Linked DNA regions of Homo sapiens: all the other regions are linked to region 2. The links are contacts of gene promoters, found by promoter capture Hi-C in blood cells and fetal thymus (Javierre and others, 2016). All regions are on one chromosome and are shown on one strand. Each heading gives the region's core, a stretch centred on a gene start or on the middle of the fragment in contact. The rest is flanking DNA. Distances are from core to core; before and after follow the strand shown.

The links. Contacts are between HindIII fragments. The CHiCAGO score rates a contact against its expected background, and 5 or more counts as called.
Region 1: the fragment with the promoter of CHAC2 here is called in contact with the fragment with the promoter of ACYP2 in region 2 in 8 of 17 cell types (monocytes, naive CD8 T cells, total CD8 T cells and 5 more); the score reaches 11.1 in monocytes.
Region 3: a contact is called between a fragment that was not itself captured here and the fragment with the promoter of ACYP2 in region 2, in 1 of 17 cell types (neutrophils). The highest score is 5.5, in neutrophils.
Region 4: a fragment that was not itself captured here is called in contact with the fragment with the promoter of ACYP2 in region 2 in 1 of 17 cell types (megakaryocytes); the score reaches 5.1 in megakaryocytes.
Region 5: a contact is called between a fragment that was not itself captured here and the fragment with the promoter of ACYP2 in region 2, in 3 of 17 cell types (megakaryocytes, total B cells and endothelial precursors). The highest score is 6.5, in megakaryocytes.
Region 6: a contact is called between a fragment that was not itself captured here and the fragment with the promoter of ACYP2 in region 2, in 2 of 17 cell types (megakaryocytes and endothelial precursors). The highest score is 6.7, in megakaryocytes.

The regions. Positions count from the first base shown.
Region 1 is chr2:53,766,303-53,769,386 of GRCh38, forward strand. It overlaps CHAC2 (ChaC glutathione specific gamma-glutamylcyclotransferase 2), which reads left to right and starts at 1,502. Exons shown (of 3, transcript NM_001008708.4): 1 at 1,502-1,719. The coding sequence starts at 1,585. All of the region lies in intron 1 of ASB3 (ankyrin repeat and SOCS box containing 3), which reads right to left. All of the region lies in intron 1 of GPR75-ASB3 (GPR75-ASB3 readthrough), which reads right to left. RefSeq lists enhancers at 1,474-1,823, 1,844-2,033. The HindIII fragment of the contact is 6,206 bases long and covers 1-3,084 here.
Region 2 is chr2:54,114,151-54,117,202 of GRCh38, forward strand. ACYP2 (acylphosphatase 2) reads left to right here and starts at 1,465. Exons shown (of 4, transcript NM_138448.4): 1 at 1,465-1,606. The coding sequence starts at 1,549. RefSeq lists silencers at 1,294-1,363, 1,854-1,913. The HindIII fragment of the contact is 9,756 bases long and covers 1-3,052 here.
Region 3 is chr2:54,608,119-54,611,210 of GRCh38, forward strand. The region is part of intron 3 of SPTBN1 (spectrin beta, non-erythrocytic 1); the gene reads left to right. Among named protein-coding and RNA genes, the nearest start is that of SPTBN1-AS1, 51 kb to the left of the region's middle. The HindIII fragment of the contact is 4,624 bases long and covers 1-3,092 here.
Region 4 is chr2:54,458,413-54,461,116 of GRCh38, forward strand. The region is part of intron 1 of SPTBN1 (spectrin beta, non-erythrocytic 1); the gene reads left to right. Among named protein-coding and RNA genes, the nearest start is that of SPTBN1, 3.4 kb to the left of the region's middle. The HindIII fragment of the contact is 546 bases long and covers 1,144-1,689 here.
Region 5 is chr2:54,578,327-54,581,197 of GRCh38, forward strand. The region is part of intron 2 of SPTBN1 (spectrin beta, non-erythrocytic 1); the gene reads left to right. Among named protein-coding and RNA genes, the nearest start is that of SPTBN1-AS1, 21 kb to the left of the region's middle. RefSeq lists enhancers at 865-914, 1,914-1,963. The HindIII fragment of the contact is 983 bases long and covers 826-1,808 here.
Region 6 is chr2:54,474,603-54,477,302 of GRCh38, forward strand. The region is part of intron 1 of SPTBN1 (spectrin beta, non-erythrocytic 1); the gene reads left to right. Among named protein-coding and RNA genes, the nearest start is that of SPTBN1, 20 kb to the left of the region's middle. The HindIII fragment of the contact is 1,467 bases long and covers 682-2,148 here.

The DNA of each region.
Region 1 (3,084 bases), core at 252-2,751, 350 kb before region 2:
AGTTCCCCTCCAGTCAGAGTCCAGTATAGCTCTCATGTGACTCTCTCGAAGACACAATTTCTTGTTAGTGACTCTATGAAGCAGTTTGGATATGGAATACTTATTTGATTACATAACTATTGTTAATTTTCTCAGATGTGATAATGGCATCACAGTTATTAGGAGAATGCCCTTATTCTTTTTTTTTAGGGAACTTGTTCTAGGATGAATGTCCTTATTCTTATGAGACACATGTAGAGTATGTGGCAGTAAAATGTCATAACACAAGCAACTTCAAATGTTCTCCATTTAAAAGTATAAATAAAGTAAAAAGGAAGTACAGCAACTGTGCAAAATGGTAATTACTGGATCTAGATGAAAGGTATTGGTCATTACACTCTTTTTATCTGAGTTTTCTGTGTATTCAAAATTTTTCAAAAAAGAAGGGTTAGCAACCATATCAGGCAATTTGAAACCACAACTTAGAGAAAATAGGAAAAGACTTGCTTTTTTTTTTGTTTGTTTGTCTGGTAGCAGCTTCCTGCTGATTTCTTTATAAGAAAACAAATAATACCCCTTGAATCTGAGTGTTTTAGCATTCAAGATCATGGTATAAAAATCTTCAAGAAAGAACAATCACTTGGTAAGGTTTCTGTTTTCACACACAGAGACACAGCCATGATAGTCCAAGCGAATTTCCTAAACAATATTTTGCAGCAAGAGCTCTAATGAGCAGATCTTCAAAAAATTTTAGGATCCTTGACCCCTTGGAGAAACTCATGAAAGCTGTAGTTTCCCCCTAGAAAAGTGTACACCCCAAATTTTGTATACAAATTCAGGTTCCCCAGCTCGTTTCCAAAGCCTTTACAGGGGCCCCAAGTTAAGAACATTTGCCTGCTCTTTTGTGAACAAGCCAATGATAATACTAAAGATGAATAAATTTGTGTAAAATTTAAATATATAAACAATTCCCATTGAAATGACAGCTACTCTTTCACAAGCGTAAACTTCTATTGTAAACTTTCTGCTTTTATTTGAAAGGCAAAAGACTTTTTTTTCAGGACATAAAATCAAATATGAATTACATTCCTCTGGCTGCTGTTATATAGGCAAAAATCTAATTTCCAAAGCAGAACAAAACGTGTTTCTAGGTGCTTTGCTACCTGCGGTGCTGGTACACCGCCTCCGTATCTGGACACGAGTGACGACTCCTGCTCTTTTCTCCTTCCTCGGCCCCGTTAGAAATAAGCCCAGTTCCAATTTCAGAGCCAAATAGCTCCAAAAAGCATTGTGGGTATTGTAGTTTTCTGCACACGGGCACTAAAGGTAGGTTAGGGTGATTTACGGATGCTGCAAAAGAATCCATTGCTTACTACACCGAAGGTCAATGCCTCTTGACACCCTAATCAAGGAAATAAAATAAAGCTGACTGAGATCCGCTCGGAAAATCTTTCTGGATCTAAACTCCCAGTGCGCTTTGCGCCCCAAGTGGCCATCGCGCCTGCGCCCCGCGCGGCCGGTTACTCGCTTACCGGAGGCTTCAGTCCCCGGCGGCGCGGCGACAGCTAGGGTTCACGGCCACTGGGGCAGAGGAGCCGCGAGAAGATGTGGGTTTTTGGTTACGGGTCCCTGATCTGGAAGGTGGATTTCCCCTATCAGGACAAGCTGGTCGGATACATCACCAACTACAGCAGGCGCTTCTGGCAGGGCAGCACGGACCACCGCGGGGTCCCCGGCAAGGTGAGGCGCCGGTCAGCTCCCCACACTTACTGCCCCCTGACCCCTGCTCCCCAACTCCACACACAGCACCCACACCCTAGAGAACCACACCTTAGCGCTTCATGGGGCCAAAGCACATGGCTTGGGGTAACATTTCTGTAGATTTTCCCTGCCACCTGCCCGCCATCTCTAACCCAGCCCGGGCACTCCTTCCGAAGCTGCTTAAGATGCCGGTGGTTAGTCTCTAGAGACGGCGAGAAGCGCGGGCACAGGCGCACGAGCTCGCACCAGGCTGAGTGCGGAGATGGGGACTCCATCTCTCTGCAACCTCTGCCAAAAGAAAAAAAGTCCCATTGGCGGGAAGATGAATGCTCATGTCACCACAGAGTTGAAATAGTAAATCAAGTTGCAAATTCAGCTTTTTAGCAATTAAATTTGTTGGCATTTCTGCATTCTAGCCGACTTTCATGAGCTTGCGATTAAACGTGCATGTTACTTCTAGGATTTCTTTACATCTTTCAAAAGTTTTATTTTCTGACACACAGGATTGCAGAATGAGTTTCCAAAATTTTCGCTGGTTATTAAGGAACTCACTTTGGTTTTCAGTACTAGTGAAGTTAAATGAAGTTCTGGTTATATGAATAACATAGTACCAAACTCATTACTATATCCAGCATTATTTTAATGTTACTTTCTTGATGGTTCTCATAATTATAATATGAAATGTAAGTTCATTGATTCACTTTTCAGTCAGTCCTACAAAGACATTAATCTCAATATATGTATAGAGAATTAGCAGCAGCTCACTGCTTATGCAAATCAGCTTTGTACTGGCTACAAAACAACTAATCCATAAAGAAAACTAAGATTGAGGTAACTAATAATTTGGAAATTGGTCAATGGAAAGTGGAAAAGATCAAGGCGCTAAAGTAGTTTGCACCTGCTCATAAGAGAGACATGGGATTAAAATCACGAAAAGAACCTGAATTAGAAACCATTCTATCTCAACTAGAGTTGGTCAGTTAAGAACTTGGCTTTTAAGTAGACTATACTGGCCTATTGGGATGTTGGACACAGTGACCTGAAAAGGGGCAATGGCTTAGGATAAATGCACATTTACAGATCAACAGAAATGTCATGGCCAAAGTATCTCCAAGAATGTTCTAGAACAATATTCAAGACATTAAAGAACTAAGCTAAATTAAATGGCTTCTGAGTTGTCAGTTTTGGCTGGGCCCGGTAGCTCACGCCTCTGATCCCAACACTTCGGAAGTTTGAGCCAGGAGGACTGCTTGAGGCCAGGAGTTTGAGAGTTGTCAGTTTTGATATGAATATTTAAAATTGCCATTCCGAAAAGAAAACCTTTAGCCCAGGCTCCAATTATAA
Region 2 (3,052 bases), core at 215-2,714:
ATGCAGAGAAATATGCCAAGGTATTGAGGCCAACAAATAGAGAAATGCAAATTCTCACAAGTAAACAGATTTGGAATTCTAGAAGGTGGCAGATTATCAATAGCTGTATCCAGATCCTTTGGAGTGGTGGATGGTTTTATATTAAAACTTGGTAATAGCTCACCAGGAAATAAAATTCAGCCTTAACCTTCTAGGCAATTGGGATGTTGCTGAGAATAATCAAGACAATCAAAAAAAAAAAAAAAAAAAAAGGTCGGGTGTGGTGGCTCACACCTGTAATCCCAGCACTTTGGGAGGCCGAGGCAGGTGGATCACCTGAGGTCAGGAGTTTGAGACTAGCCTGGACAACATGGTGAAACCCCGTCTCCACTAAAAATACAAAAATTAGCTGGGTGAGGTGGCGCATGCCTGTAATCCCAGCTACTTGGAAGGCTGAGGCAGGACAATTTCTTGAACCTGGGAGGTGGAGGCTGCTGTGAGCTGAGATTGCACTACTGCACTCCAGTCTGGGAGACAAGAGCGAAACTCCGTCTCAAAACAACAGCAACAAACCCACACCAAAAAAACTGTATGAACAGCAGACAAGATGACTACAGTGTTTTTCTTTTGTCTGTTTCCACTAGCATAAAAGACTTCATATTTTTAAAAAGTTTCTTATCCCAGAAAATATCACAATCCGTTTAGAATACGAGTTCAGGCTCAATTCCTTCCTGACTGTACAGAAGAGCTCAAGATGTTGCAGACCTTATCTTAAAAGCTGGCTTGGTAGTCACCTAAACATTTCATAAATAATTTACTAACTCTCAAAACACTAAACACGCAGGCCCTTGATTTCAAAAGCCAATCTTGCTGGGATGGAGTGGGGTGGGGGACCTGGGATGGGGGATGAAAGGGGTTGGAAATGGGGAGATATTGGTCAAAGGGTACAAAGTTTCAGTTAGTGTGAATAATAAGTTCTGAAGATCTGTTGTCTAACATGGTGACTGCGATAAATGTATTGTGTCCTTAAAAATTGATGAGAGTAGATCTTAAATGTTCTCTTCATTAAAAAATGGTGCAATGGATACGTTAATTTCATTGATGTAATCATTTCACAATGCATACATATGTCAAAACATCACCTTGTACACCACAAATATACCCAACTTTTATTTGTCAATTACACTTTAATAAAGCTGGGGGAAGCCACTCTTTTTTTGGGCACAGCATCCGGCTTTTATTTACTAACTTTGAGAACAGAGTACCTTGATCAATTAAATGGTAGGGAGCGCTGTGGAGACAGCATCCTCCCCAGTCCGGGAAGAGAGGCCTAGGATGCCTGGGGCCCAGCGGCCTCTTCCCTCCTGGCGTCCCCGGCTGCCCTCGCTCCCAGGCCCCGCAGTCTCATTTGCCGCTTCCGACGCGTGACCCCGGCGCGCTAGCGTCCGGGACCGGTGACAGGCGCGGGGTGCGCCAAGCAGTCCCATGTGTCCCCTCCCTCTCGCAGCCGCCGCAGTCGCTGCGCCCCGAGCCCCTCTCCGGCTCCTCAACAGAGGGCTCGCCGCCGCCATGTCTACCGCCCAGTCACTCAAATCCGTGGACTACGAGGTGTTCGGAAGAGTGCAGGGTAGGAGGCCCCTCTACGGTGGGAGATCAAAAAGGTTATGGGAGGAAGGGGAGAAAGCTGTGAGAAGCGCCTCCCACCTAAAGTATGCCTTTTCCCGTTGTGGCTGGGACTTCCGCTCCGCCATGACACAGCAGCGGCGGCGGGGAGGGAGGCGAAACGCGCATGCGCCCGAGGACTTGGACGGGCGGAAGTACGGGAATGGGGAGGGAAGTGGGGGAGCGGGAGAGGAGGGGTCAGGGGACTGCTGAGGACCAGAAGTGGGCGGCTGCTGGGTGCGGGAGTAAGCGGCACGGGGGAATGTTGAAGTTGGGTAGGAAAAGAAGAGGGTCTTTTAACTAGTGGTCTCGTTGCTTGCCACTGAAGCTACCTGGGCTTGACTTGAGTTTTAGGAAGGACACTTAGATGGTTTAAGGTTAATTTTTCAGAGGTCAAACCTTTTTTTAGACCTCTTTGTAGCTCTTAAAAGAATGAAATTGTTATCTAATTTTTGTTTCATCCTAAGTTTAAGTAGTTGCCAAGTTTGTAATGTCTGGCTTGTTGAAAATATTGATATTTATAAATGAAAATATTAAGTCACTCTGAGATTTATGCAATGGAATATAAATAGGGTAGTGATTTAACATCCACCATCTTCATTTAAAATAAAACTCTTCAACAATGGGAAATTTTACTCATTTCTTTTCCTCTTTGAATTTGATTTTCATTTCACTTTTCCCACCGAATTACCCCATTGTTTTGCTTGAGGGTTTTTTTTTTTTTTTTGCTCACCCTATCATACTTTTCTGCAATATGTATATGTACATATATGCACATGTATGAATAAGTGTAATGCTTTTTCTTAATTTCCTTTGACAATAAGGCTCTCTTAGAAACAAATGCTGGTTCTTTGGTGCCAAAAAGAAGAACTAGCGCTCAAAGAATTTTCTCAGCAAGGCAATTTTACCTCTATAGAAGGGTGCGACTCGCGGATGAAGCAATGGCAACGGCACACCTGAACAGGGGAGGGGAAGGGGTTCTTATTCCTGATGCAGGTAGCCTCTACTGCTGTGTCTTTCCCCTACTGGCTAGGGTTGGACCGCACAGTCTAAGCTAATTCCGACTGGCTATTTTAAAGAGCAGGCGTACGAGCTCAAGTGGCGGGGTGAATAATTTGGCAGGAAGGGTGGTTACAGAACAGGTGACTCAGGATGATTCAGGTCAGAGCAGGTGACCAGGGGTGACTCAGGATGGAGCAGGTGACCAGAGGAATAGAGGTGAACTACTGATTAGAACTGGTGGAAAAGGTTGTTTACTGAAACTAGAGGCGAGGAGAACGAGGAAGCTAGACTTTAGAGCGCAAAGAACCGAGCATACTGACATACTGATTCTTTGAAGAGAAATTTAGAACTCATTGTATTCAACAGCTCCAAGTATTAAATTTTTTGTCTGGATGGAGTTATTATTGAA
Region 3 (3,092 bases), core at 55-2,554, 490 kb after region 2:
ACACCAAGCCCAGTCTGTCTGCTGGCATTCAGTTCACTGTGCACATAACTCTGTGCTCAGAACTGGACCAAAAACCCCTGAGAATATAGAAGTATAAAGCCTCATCCTTGCTCTTAGGAAGCGAACAGTCTAGTTGGAAGTAATAAGAGCAATAAATGAAACAACAGCAAAATTATAATGATGAGTTCCTGGGCTCTGTGGTCCAGCCTGTTAGTTGTAGAGTTGTGAGGAAAAGAAGAGCTGTGAGAACCAGAATGATTGGAAATGGGAATGTCTCCGGGAAGGAAAGATGGGCCTTGGCCTGAGCCTTGGAAGGTAGGTAGGTGTGATGAGGTGAAGAGATTGGGAAGTCAAGATGATGGGTCACAGGCTGAGTGCGTTCTTCTACATGTGGATGTGTGCATCCTCCTGGCATCTTTATGAGATGGTGACATCAGCTCCAGGTGCAGCCTCTACTAGAGGGGGAGTGATGGGAAATAGGAAGGAGAGAAGGATGGAGCCAGATGGGCGAGGGCATGAGCTTGGTGTTGGTACAACAGATAATAGAAACCCATTTTGTGTGCGTGTGTGTGCATGCGCGCACGAGTGCGCGCATGCACACACACAGTGGATCCTTGAACAAAGCAGGGGGTTTAGGGGCACCAACCCCATGCCGCTGAAAATCTTCCTATGCATTTGATTCCCCCAAAACTTTTAATAGCCTACTGTTGTCTTATCAATAATATAAACAGTCAATTAACATATTTTGCATGTTATGTGTATTACATTACTGTAGTCTTAAAGTAAGCTAGGGAAAAGAAAATGTTAGAAAAGGAAGAGAAAATATATTTGCAGATTCATTAAGTGGAAGTGGATCATCATAAATGTCTTCATCCTTGTCTTCACGTTGAGTAGGCTGAGGAGGAAGGTGGGGGGATTGGTCTTGCCATCTTGGTGTAGTAGAAGTGGAGGAGGTAGAAGGGGAGGCAGAAGAGGCAGGGACACTTGGTGTAACTTTATGGAAATAACACAAGCAGTCTTGAATAATTGGAACCCTTGGAACAAATTCAATTTGTTTTCTGGTACTGCTTTTACATCCTCTTCCGCATCATTTGTCATCTTTTTGGAGACACTCATTTTCATCAAGTCGTCTTCCGTTAATTCTTCTGATGTGGTGTCTGATAGCTCTTGAATTTCTCCAAGATCCGTATCATGAAAACCTTCACCCCTCTACCTTTTTGCCATATCCACAACCTCTTTCATAATTTCCTTCATTGGCTCTGTCATAAATTCTGTGAAGTCCTGTGTAACATCTGGACATCATTTTCTTCAGCAGGAATGTATTGTTTCAGGCTCGATGGCTTTCACAGCTTTTTCTGTAACAATGATGGCATCTTCAGTGGTGTAGTCCTCCCAGATTTTCCTGATGTTCTCTCTGTTGGGGATTCTATTCCATAGCATCAACAAATCTTTCCATAGAGTTTTGTGTAGTAATGAGCGTTACAAGTCCTTATGACCCCTTGATCTAGAGGCTGAATTAGGGATGTTGTGTTTAGGGGCCAGTAGACCATGTCAGTGCCTTCAGTGTTGAACTCATGGGGTTCTGGGTGGGGGCATTATCCAATACCAAAAGAACTTTAAAACGCAGCCTCTTACTGGCAAGGTACTTTGAGACTTCAGGAACCAAAACATCAGTAGAACCAATTCAGAAAACCGGTTGTCATTGTCCAGGCCTTCTTTTTGTACAACCAGAAGACTGGCAGCTGGTATTTATTTTTTCCCTTCAAGGCTCAAAGGTTAGCAGCCTTATGAATAAGGGCAGTCCTGATTATAAACCCAGCTGCATTTGCACAGAACAGTAGAGTTAGCCTATCCCTTTATGCCTTAAGTCCTGGTGCTCACCTCTCTTTCTCTTACTGGGCTTTTGTGAACAGGGCACTTTCGTCTGCATTAAAAACTTGTTGAGGCAAGATACACTTTTCCTTCATTGATTTTCTTAATGGTGCCTGGGAACTCATCTGCTGCCTCTTGGTCAGCAAAAGCTGCTTCTCCCAATTCCTTGACATTTTTTAAGCCAAACCTCTTTCCGAAATTATCAGACTGGGAGCTCTGTGAACCTTTCCTGGTTCTGAGGGCTACCCAATTAAAAATTAATAGTCATGCCATCCTTTGCTGGTGTTACATTCTCCAGCCTTAGATCCTTCACCTTCCTATGCCTTTAAATTGTCATATGATGACTTCATTTTTTCTCAAATCATATTAGTCCTTAGGTATGCCTCTCTTATGGCAATCCTGCACTCACATAAAAGATGCATTTTTAATTAATTCATTATTTATTTATTTATTTTGTAGAGACGGGTTTTTGCCATGTTGTCCAGGCTGGTCTCAAACTCCTGGGCACAAGCAGTCTGCCCGCCTCAGCCTCCCAAAGTGCTGGGATTACAGGCATGAGCTGCTGCACCCAGCCAAACGCTGCATTTTCAATATGAGATAAAAAGATATTTCACAAAAAAGTGCAAGGTCTTTGCATCTGCTGGTGTAGCTTCAGGGATGGCTTCACAAATTTCCTTTTCTTTTTTTAGTCTTCAAATGGTGGGCCACCACAACTGTAGACCTCAATCTACAATACATAGCAAGCAGTTCATCCTTTTCTTGTAATGTCATGACTTCTCTCTGCTTCTTGGGAGTACTTCCAGCATCACTAGTGGCACTTTGGGTCTCATGATATTAGTCAAGGTTTACAGTATTGCACTAGACACTGTGAAAAATACACAAGAACTGTGAGAGATGGCTTTTTACTGTGATACCCAATTTACTAGAGAGACCACGTGGAGATGATTAGCATCATAGGCATTTTAAGTAGGCACTCAACAATACTTGAGCTCATCACAGTAGGAGTTAGAGATGGCTCTGAAATTACTATAGTAGTACAGTACATACCAAGATTTAATACTGCTCAAATGGTGCCATTACAATCTGTGTTTGTGTGTATGAGTTTTGATAATTTTTAATTTTATGACAGATTTGTATATATTTTGCGGTAGTAAATTATAAAATAGACTAACATCTATATATATTTTATGCATTCATGACATACCTTTTTCTTAATTTTT
Region 4 (2,704 bases), core at 167-2,666, 340 kb after region 2:
GGTGTATGAGTGTCATGATGGGGGCTAAATTGGTATTCAGATTTCTATTGATTGAGGTAGCCAAGTTAAGTGTCCGGGCGTAATTAATGGGATTATGACAGTAACACTGCGTTTGTGTTTGTTTATATGTATTTTTTGTATACATATTTTTCACAGCTGTGACTGGGGAGAGGGTGGAGAAGGGCAGACCACCAAGGCCTCTTGACTGGCATCTAGTCAGAAGGAGATGGTTCCCAGTGTTCTCATGTTTAGTCTCGGCCAGGACACAGGGAATTTCCCTTCTAAATGCCATCTCTATAATTCATTATTCAGTGTGGGATGGCAAATGGGATATATTTCAAATGTCAACCCAGGCTTTCCTAAAATGTTTAGGTGAAAAAGGAAATTTCAATATGCTAGTTGGAAGGGAAGGTCAGTGTTTACAAGCCAAGGGCGTGCCTGCTTGTATTTTTAAATATTTCTAATGAATCCAAGTTAGTTGCTTTTGATTTCATGTGGCTCTGCAGAATAGAACTGCATGTACATTGTGTGGTGTATGTGCGTTATTTTGAGTTTCTCTAATAGCCATTAAAATATGAGACTTTTTGTGCTGGTTGTGTAAAATCGTGTTGCGTACAGATTTTTATGAATGTTGTTCCCATGGATCATCCAAACGTTTTGGATTTACTTTGTTGTAAGAAATATCCTGTGTTGATGTCACAGGAGGTTTAGCTGTTCTGACTTACACAGCAGGTGCAGAATTCTGTTGGGTTAAGCTCTTTGTAACTCTGTCATTACTGGAGTGACCAAAACCTTCATCTGAGAGGAGAAGTATTGGGCAGTGAAGGAACTGCTGTCACTAGGTCGTCTCCCACAGTTGAGGTTTTCTGTGAAGAACTTCTCTTGGGCAAGACTAGTAACAACTATCTGTGATGTTGCAGAGCAAATGAGAAGACCTCCCTCTACTTGTGACACATCCTGAGCAGAGGCTTGGCATTGGCAGAGTTTCCTGGAAGGGTTTGTAGAGTGGTTGCTTTGTCTTGATGTTTGAATGTATGACTTTACATGTGGAAGTACTATTTTGACGTGGAAGGATTTTACTACTGCTAACATAGACATGATTAGTGGAAATCATTCAGTGTGGATTTTGTCGAAATAATTTTAAGCTTTTCTTTTTAATAGCATATTCTTATAGAACATTTTAAAGCCTAATTTTTTTTACGTGCAATGACATGATGCTCCTTTAATTATGTTGCATCGTAACTAGTATCTTCATTATAATTGGGCTTTATTTAATGGCAGCCGTAGTTTCTTTCACTACATTATTGGAAATGCAAACCATTCTTCCAGAAGGAAGGGGCTAACTACCCCTGTTAGAAGAGTGAACTTTGTAGGTCTGTGGAAGTGAGTAAAGCATCTCATGGGTTTTTCTTGTAAATTTTCAGTCTTTGCTTTTTCTCAGGGCATCTTTTCTTTGCAAAAGACCTAGTTTAGTACTCTGATTTTTCCGGTAGCACTTGTAATTATATTTAAATTTTTATTGTGTGGGAATAACATCATCTATTTTTTTCTACTCAGTGGTTAAAGGAAATTACACCAATTAGATATACCTGTGTTTCTATTTTTAAACATCTCTGGAGAAGGCATTTTCATAATGTCCTTTGCTATCATAGTGAGGTTCACGGACCTTCAACATTAGAATCGCCTGGAAGCTTGTTGCAAATGCAGATTCTTAGGCCCCACTCTGAACTCAGCCAATCGGAATCAACATTTTAACAAGACCTTTAAGTGAGTTGTATGCACATTAAATGAAGAAACTCTATTCTGTTCCTTCAGCAAAGGGACCTCAATATCAAAAGTTTCCTTCTTGAATTTTCCTTTCTTTTGCTGAAGTATCAGCACATTTTTTTCCTTGATGGTGGTGACAAAAGTGAGGCTCTCACTGTAAATTATTTGTTTAATACAAAATTATTTTATAAAGCTGTTCTTTAATTCTTGGTGGAAGAGTCCTATATACCATGGTTTATTTAGATTAATCAGTGTTTTAGGTTGTTTTGTAAAACACCTCTAAAGTTGAAAAACAGTCTTTTTCCCCTCTGGAAGAAAAAGGCATTGGTTTTGAGACATCAGAGCTGGAGCCTCGGAAGCTAACCCCTGAGCAAAGGGTCCTCTCTGCTCCCTCTGCTCTGGCATCTTGATGTCTGTCATCTGATATAGTCAATGTCCTGCCCTCTCGTCCAGTCTTTTCTTAGAGTTCTTTTTTGAATCAACTAATTGGTAGGTACAAAATAATGTTCCTAAAATATATGTTAAAGAATCGTAAACCAGCTGGGTGCAGTGGCTCACGCCTGTAATCCCAGCACTTTGGGATGCCGAGTGGGGGCGGATCACTTGAGGTCAGGAGTTCAAGACCAGCCTGGCCAACATGGTGAAACCCCATCTCTACTAAAAATACAAAAATTATCTGGGCATGGTGGCAGGCATCTGTAATTCCCAGCTACTCGGGAGGCTGAGGCAACAGAATCAGTTGAACTGGGGAGGCAGAGGTTGCAGTGAGCCGAGATCGCGCCACTGCATTCCAACCTGGGTGACAAGAGCGAGACTCTGTCTCAAAAAAATAAAAATCATAAACCAAGGGACACTCAGGCAGCCACCGGCTAGTTCAGGAAGAGCCTTATACATTCAGAGCCCACCTCCATCATCCCATCTGAAACAACCCATATCC
Region 5 (2,871 bases), core at 67-2,566, 460 kb after region 2:
TGCTGATTTTTCTTGACTTTAAATATTTTCGACTGGTTGAGTGTTTGTTGGTGTTTTTGGGCTAAGTGTTAGCCTTTTGTTCTGTGATGTCCCTGTGTGAATAAAATGGATAATCCCTGTTTCCGGTTAGCTGCTGCTGCTGCTGCTGCTGCCAAGTATAAGTGAAGACTTCCAGCTGCGATTTGCATTGTGTTTTCAGGCCACCTTTTGAGTTTCCCCATAGCAGATATAAAAACTGTTTCTAAGAGTTCATCCTTACGTGTTCAGCCTTACTTGTATCCTAAAACCACAAACTTGATTTTGTTCCCATTCATTATGATCTATATTTGGCATCAGTGAGGCAAGTTATTTATATTTATTATTTATACCCTGCCCACTTCCAGAAATGATTTAATTTGGCCTAGGCAAGTGTCTTCTGATGGGGTGTGTGTGTGTGTGTGTGTGTGTGTGTGATGATAATTCTGATGTGTGTGTGTATGATGCTACTTCTGCCACTTCAAGAGTCCAGAATCATAAGATTCCTAATAGGATTGTTGGGTTGGTGAATGCTGGGTTTGTTCTCTTCTATGCCCTCTCTGTCCAGGAGAAATCTGAGTATCTTTCTTAGGAATGCCTAACACTGCTAGACTGAAAGGTGCCATGTCACCATTTTTCCCAAGAAATTTTCTTTTGAGGGTGCTATAGAGAAGCCCTCTGGTATGAATGTATTAGGCTGGTGCAAAAGTAATTGTGGCTTTTGCAATTAAAAGTAATGACAAAACTACAATTACTTCTGCACCAACCTAATATATATTATATATTCCCATTTTGTTCTTTTCAGAATAAAGCTTCCTAGGAGTTTCTCTAGCTCATGACCTCTTTTACCTTTACTTTCAGTTGCAGTGTTCTTAGCTCATAGAAGGAGCTTTGACGGCACATAGAATGAAGTATAACAGCTTCCGTTTGACCTGAGGCATCCCTCAGGTATGAGAATGTCACCCAGAGATCGAATACAGTGCCAGGTTATCAACTACCATTTTTTGGGACTGATTCTCTGCTCATGTGTGACCATTATTTGGGGAAATCATACAGTACCACAAACCAGAAGTTTCTGAAAACACCTAAACTCCCCATCTTTCACACTCACCCATAGGGACCGTGGCCCCCAATGAGGGGTAGTTCGTCTCTGTATTGGTAGCATTAGCGCACGTGCTATATAGCTCTCTTAATACCTGAACTGTGGACAGACCAGATCCTCACTGAGCTGAAGCACATTGGCATATTAAGGGAGCCCAGCATTGCTGTTTGGCCCTGCTTTTGAACTGGGAAGATATATTGCTGCATGGAGTTCTGAAAAGTACCTTTGTAAGTCCCGAGAACTCCTGTTGACCTTTGGATTTAGGTAAAATGTAAGTCTTAGGAGAATTGATGAGAATGTAGGAACCAGTTTTAGCCAATGCATTAAGACTAAAATGACTCTATTGTTTGTCAGGCTTTGCCAGAAAGTATAGTGAGAGAGAGAGATCCTAAAACTCTGAAAGCAAATAGCCCACAGCAGTTAACTGTATTGACTTTGGAAACAGGTTATAAACCCAAACCTCTGTGCTGAACTTGAATGGGTGTTTCTTCTCTCCTTTCTGAGGGTAAAAGCTGCTGGTGAGAACGGCTCTCTGGTGTTGCTAGGACAGACCTGTATGACCTTCTTTATGTAAATAATTAACAGGGGAATATTTTCATTTACGTTAAAGCCATATATGAGAGAGATTTCCGGGCTGGCTCTGACAGCCTCTGGCCCCACTGGAGAAGGAAGCCAGCACTGAAAAAATTCAAGCTTCCGGCCACACGGAACCTGAGAATATTCTCTATGACAGCAGTGGCTGTGAAGCTGTTTCTTTAAAGTAAAACCCCTTTTGAAGGTTAGTCTGGGGTGACTTTACTGTTACATAGGGAGTAGATTTTGTTTCTTGATGGTTCGTTGAGTGGTAGAGAGGTTAAAGGTAGAACTAACATATGTAGAACTAAAAAGCATCTGAAACTTTTAGCAAACCAGTAATATTTAGAGGCTTCTGCCCACTCTGGGTAGGCATTTTTATCTTGTATACCCATACCAGCTTTTCACATCCTGTTTCTTGAGAATACATAAAGAGCACATTTCTCCACATTATCAGGAAAACAATTTGAAGCACAGGTCTTGTGAATTGGGAAGACCACTAGTATTGCCATTAGCTGCTTATTTGTGTGTGTGTTGGAGGATGGATTATAATCCAAGTGTATTCATATTCTCACACTTTAACCAAAAAAAAAAAAAAATCTCCAAAATCTTCTCTCTTGCATTGTTTATTGATAGAATGGGAAACTTACTGCTGGTAACTAGTTAATTCTGAAAGGGTTAGGGTTTCTACTGTATACTTCCAAAAGTACAGGCCTGGGGGAGCCAATATGAGAGACACACATAACCAAAAATTTGTAAAAACTTTATTTTTTAATAAAAATTATAAATAAAAATTATAGGCCGGGTGCACTAGCTCATCCCTGTAATTCCAGCATTTTGGGAGGCTGAGGCGGACTGATCACTTGAGGTCAGGAGTTTGAAACCAGCCTGGGCAACATGTTGAAACCCTGTCTCTACTAAAAATACAAAAATTAGCCATGCATAGTGGCACACACGTGTAATCCCAGCTACTTGGGTGGCTGAGGCACGAGAGTCGCTTGAGTCCGGGTGGTGGAGGTTGCAGTGAGCCACGATCACGCCACTGCACTCCAGCCTGGGCAAAAGAGCAAGACTTAGTCTTAAAAAAAAAGAAAAAATATATAAATATATACACACACACTTTATATATTTTTATATATAATCTCATACAACATGTTTTGAAATACACGTGCATTGTGGAA
Region 6 (2,700 bases), core at 165-2,664, 360 kb after region 2:
ATTATTATGGAATACCTTCTAATAACATGGGAAGGTTTTTAACATAGGGAGAAAAAGCAGAACACAAGATTATATAAATGGAATTACCGTAACTATGTAGAAAAATATACAAAAGGGATAAGGAAATACTACAAATATTAAGGTTTTTGGGGGAGGGGAGAATGGATGAGATTCCTTGTGATTTTTGCTTTTGTCTCAGAGCTGTTTTGTATTTTCTGCTGTTCTACAGTAAGCATATGTTACTTCTATAATTTGAAAAAGTAAACTTTGTTTTCAAAAGTGGATGTAGGCTGGGCGCAGTGGCTCATGCCTGTAATCCCAGCACTTTGGGAGGCTGAGGCGGGTAGATTGCCTTCAGGTCAGGAGTTCGAGACCAACCTGGCCACATGGTGAAAATACAAAAACACAAAAAATTATAAAAATACAAAATATAAAATTATAAAAATACAAAAAATTAGCCGGGCGTGGTGGCACATGCCTATAATCCCAGCTACTCAGGAGGCCGAGTCAGGAGAATCACTTGAGCCCGGGAGGCAGAGGTTGCAGTGAGCTGAGATCGCGCCACTGCACTCCAGCCTGGGTGACAAGAGCGAAACTCCGTCTCAAAAAAGAAAAAGAAAAGTGGATGTATCCCTTGCAAACGGTTAGTTTGTCAATTATAAGAACAGCTTATTCTTTAAAAGCTTAGGGCCTTCCGTTTGGCAACAGTTTGTCTCCTTTTGGTTCCATAATACTTCCACATTCTTACAGAAGCTAATGGGAAATGCTGGATTAAACCACATTATCTATGCTGTTATCTATGTTTAGAAACTTTTAATGATGACAGATATGCAGTCCCTTCTCTCTGTGGTCACATGGGAGAATCACTCTTGCCTGCTCCCCTTGCATTTTGGTGGCATGTTGGACTAGTTCTGAGGAATGGCCTGTGTCCAGACTGCAGCCAGAGTCCTTGAGTGAGAATGGTAGAGCCTCCTGCTACCATGTGACAGGCACGTAACATGAGTGGGAAACATGCTTCTGTGAGTTTGAGCCACAGAACGGCATTCTTACAGAGTGCCTTGGAGTAATGAAACTCAAAACTATTTTTTAAATTCATCATTTAGTATTTTCCACTAATTCAGACTCATTGTTTAGTGAAAAGAATACAGCCATCGGTAAGGCACATGACTGTTATTAACAGTATGAATTTAGACAAATTATGTAATAGAGTTTTAGTTTTCTTGTGTCAAAGGCCTCACCTCCACAAACTACAAACAAAACTTTTGATGCTTCAAATTAGTCCATACCAGAGTGTTTAGTTTTAATTCACTGCTCTTTAGTGCTTGAAATGAGATTCTTTAGACCAAAGTGGCCTTAAAGGTTCATTCTTGTTGTATGCTTATTCCACATTTCTCTATATATTTATTTTGTCACTTCTGGTCACTATATATAGGTTTATTTAAGAAAAATTCCCTTCCATAGTTTATCAGGCAGGTTAGGCTGGTGCTGCAGTAACAAAGATCTCCAGAATCTCGGTGGCTCAAACTCACAGATGCGTATTTTCCACTCATGTTACTTGTCCGTCACATGGTGGCAGGGTGCTCTGTGCCATCCTCACTCAAGGACGGTGGACTGATGGGCTAGATGCAGGCCATTGATCAGAATAATCAAATGCCCCGCCCAAATGCTAGGGTAGCAGGTAAGAGTAATCCTCCCATGTAGCCACAAAAAGAAGAGACTGGGTATGTGTGATCATTAAAAGTTTCTAACTAAACATAGATAACAGAGTAGGTAATATGGTCGAATCCAGCATTTCCCATCAGCTTCTTTGAAGCACCAGTTTTGCAGTATGTTCACATGTACTGTTGATAAAGGGCATCTCCTGGTCAAGTAAATCTGGAGAATGCTGGGCTTAATAACATGTACTAGGCCTCTTTAGTGAAGGTCGTCTCCGAGCTGTTGTATCCTAACAGGCATTCTGGAGGTGGAGAGTAACATACGATGTTTCCCAAACTTACCTGACCTTTGAATTATTTTCTTACTTTTCATAGCCTCTCTCGGATGCAGGTTTTGTTGAACATGCTTTGGGATACCCTAATTTGTCTAACTTGTTCTCATACAAAGCAAGTATTTGGAATTGCATTTTAATTAATACTTGCATTGGGAAGAAGCTTTGTTTTTATTGTTTGTTAAAAGAGTTGACTATTTGAAGAGAGATTTTTTCTATTGCAAATCAAATTGCAGGCAGTGTTTTTAAAAATTAGTTATTACTGGTTACATGCCTGTGTTGAATCCATAGGACTTTTTCTTCATTTAGTTGCCTTTGTGTTCTAAACTTACCATTGAAAAGAGAAAGGTAAATAAACTTTGACCACATATCTTAGTGGTTATAAAAAAATTAAATTGGTTTGGACAGATGGTCCAAACACACCGAGTTTTTTTTTTATTGGCTTCAGTGTTTTTCTTGGTTCTCTTTGACTTTCTGTAACAAGTTTTCTAGAAGTTTTGAAATGAGATACTACTGAAATGAGGGCTCTGATAAGAAACAGAGAGATAACTTTTGTCAAGAGGTATTAAATATTTCTCTACCAGAAGACTTTGGATTTAAACACAACATTTGTTGCCAGGGATTTTATGCCTGCGTATGTAACAAATCTTAGTATGGAAGTTTTCACTTAAAATGGCTGTAAACTTCATGTAATAAACTTTAGGTAAGAAGGA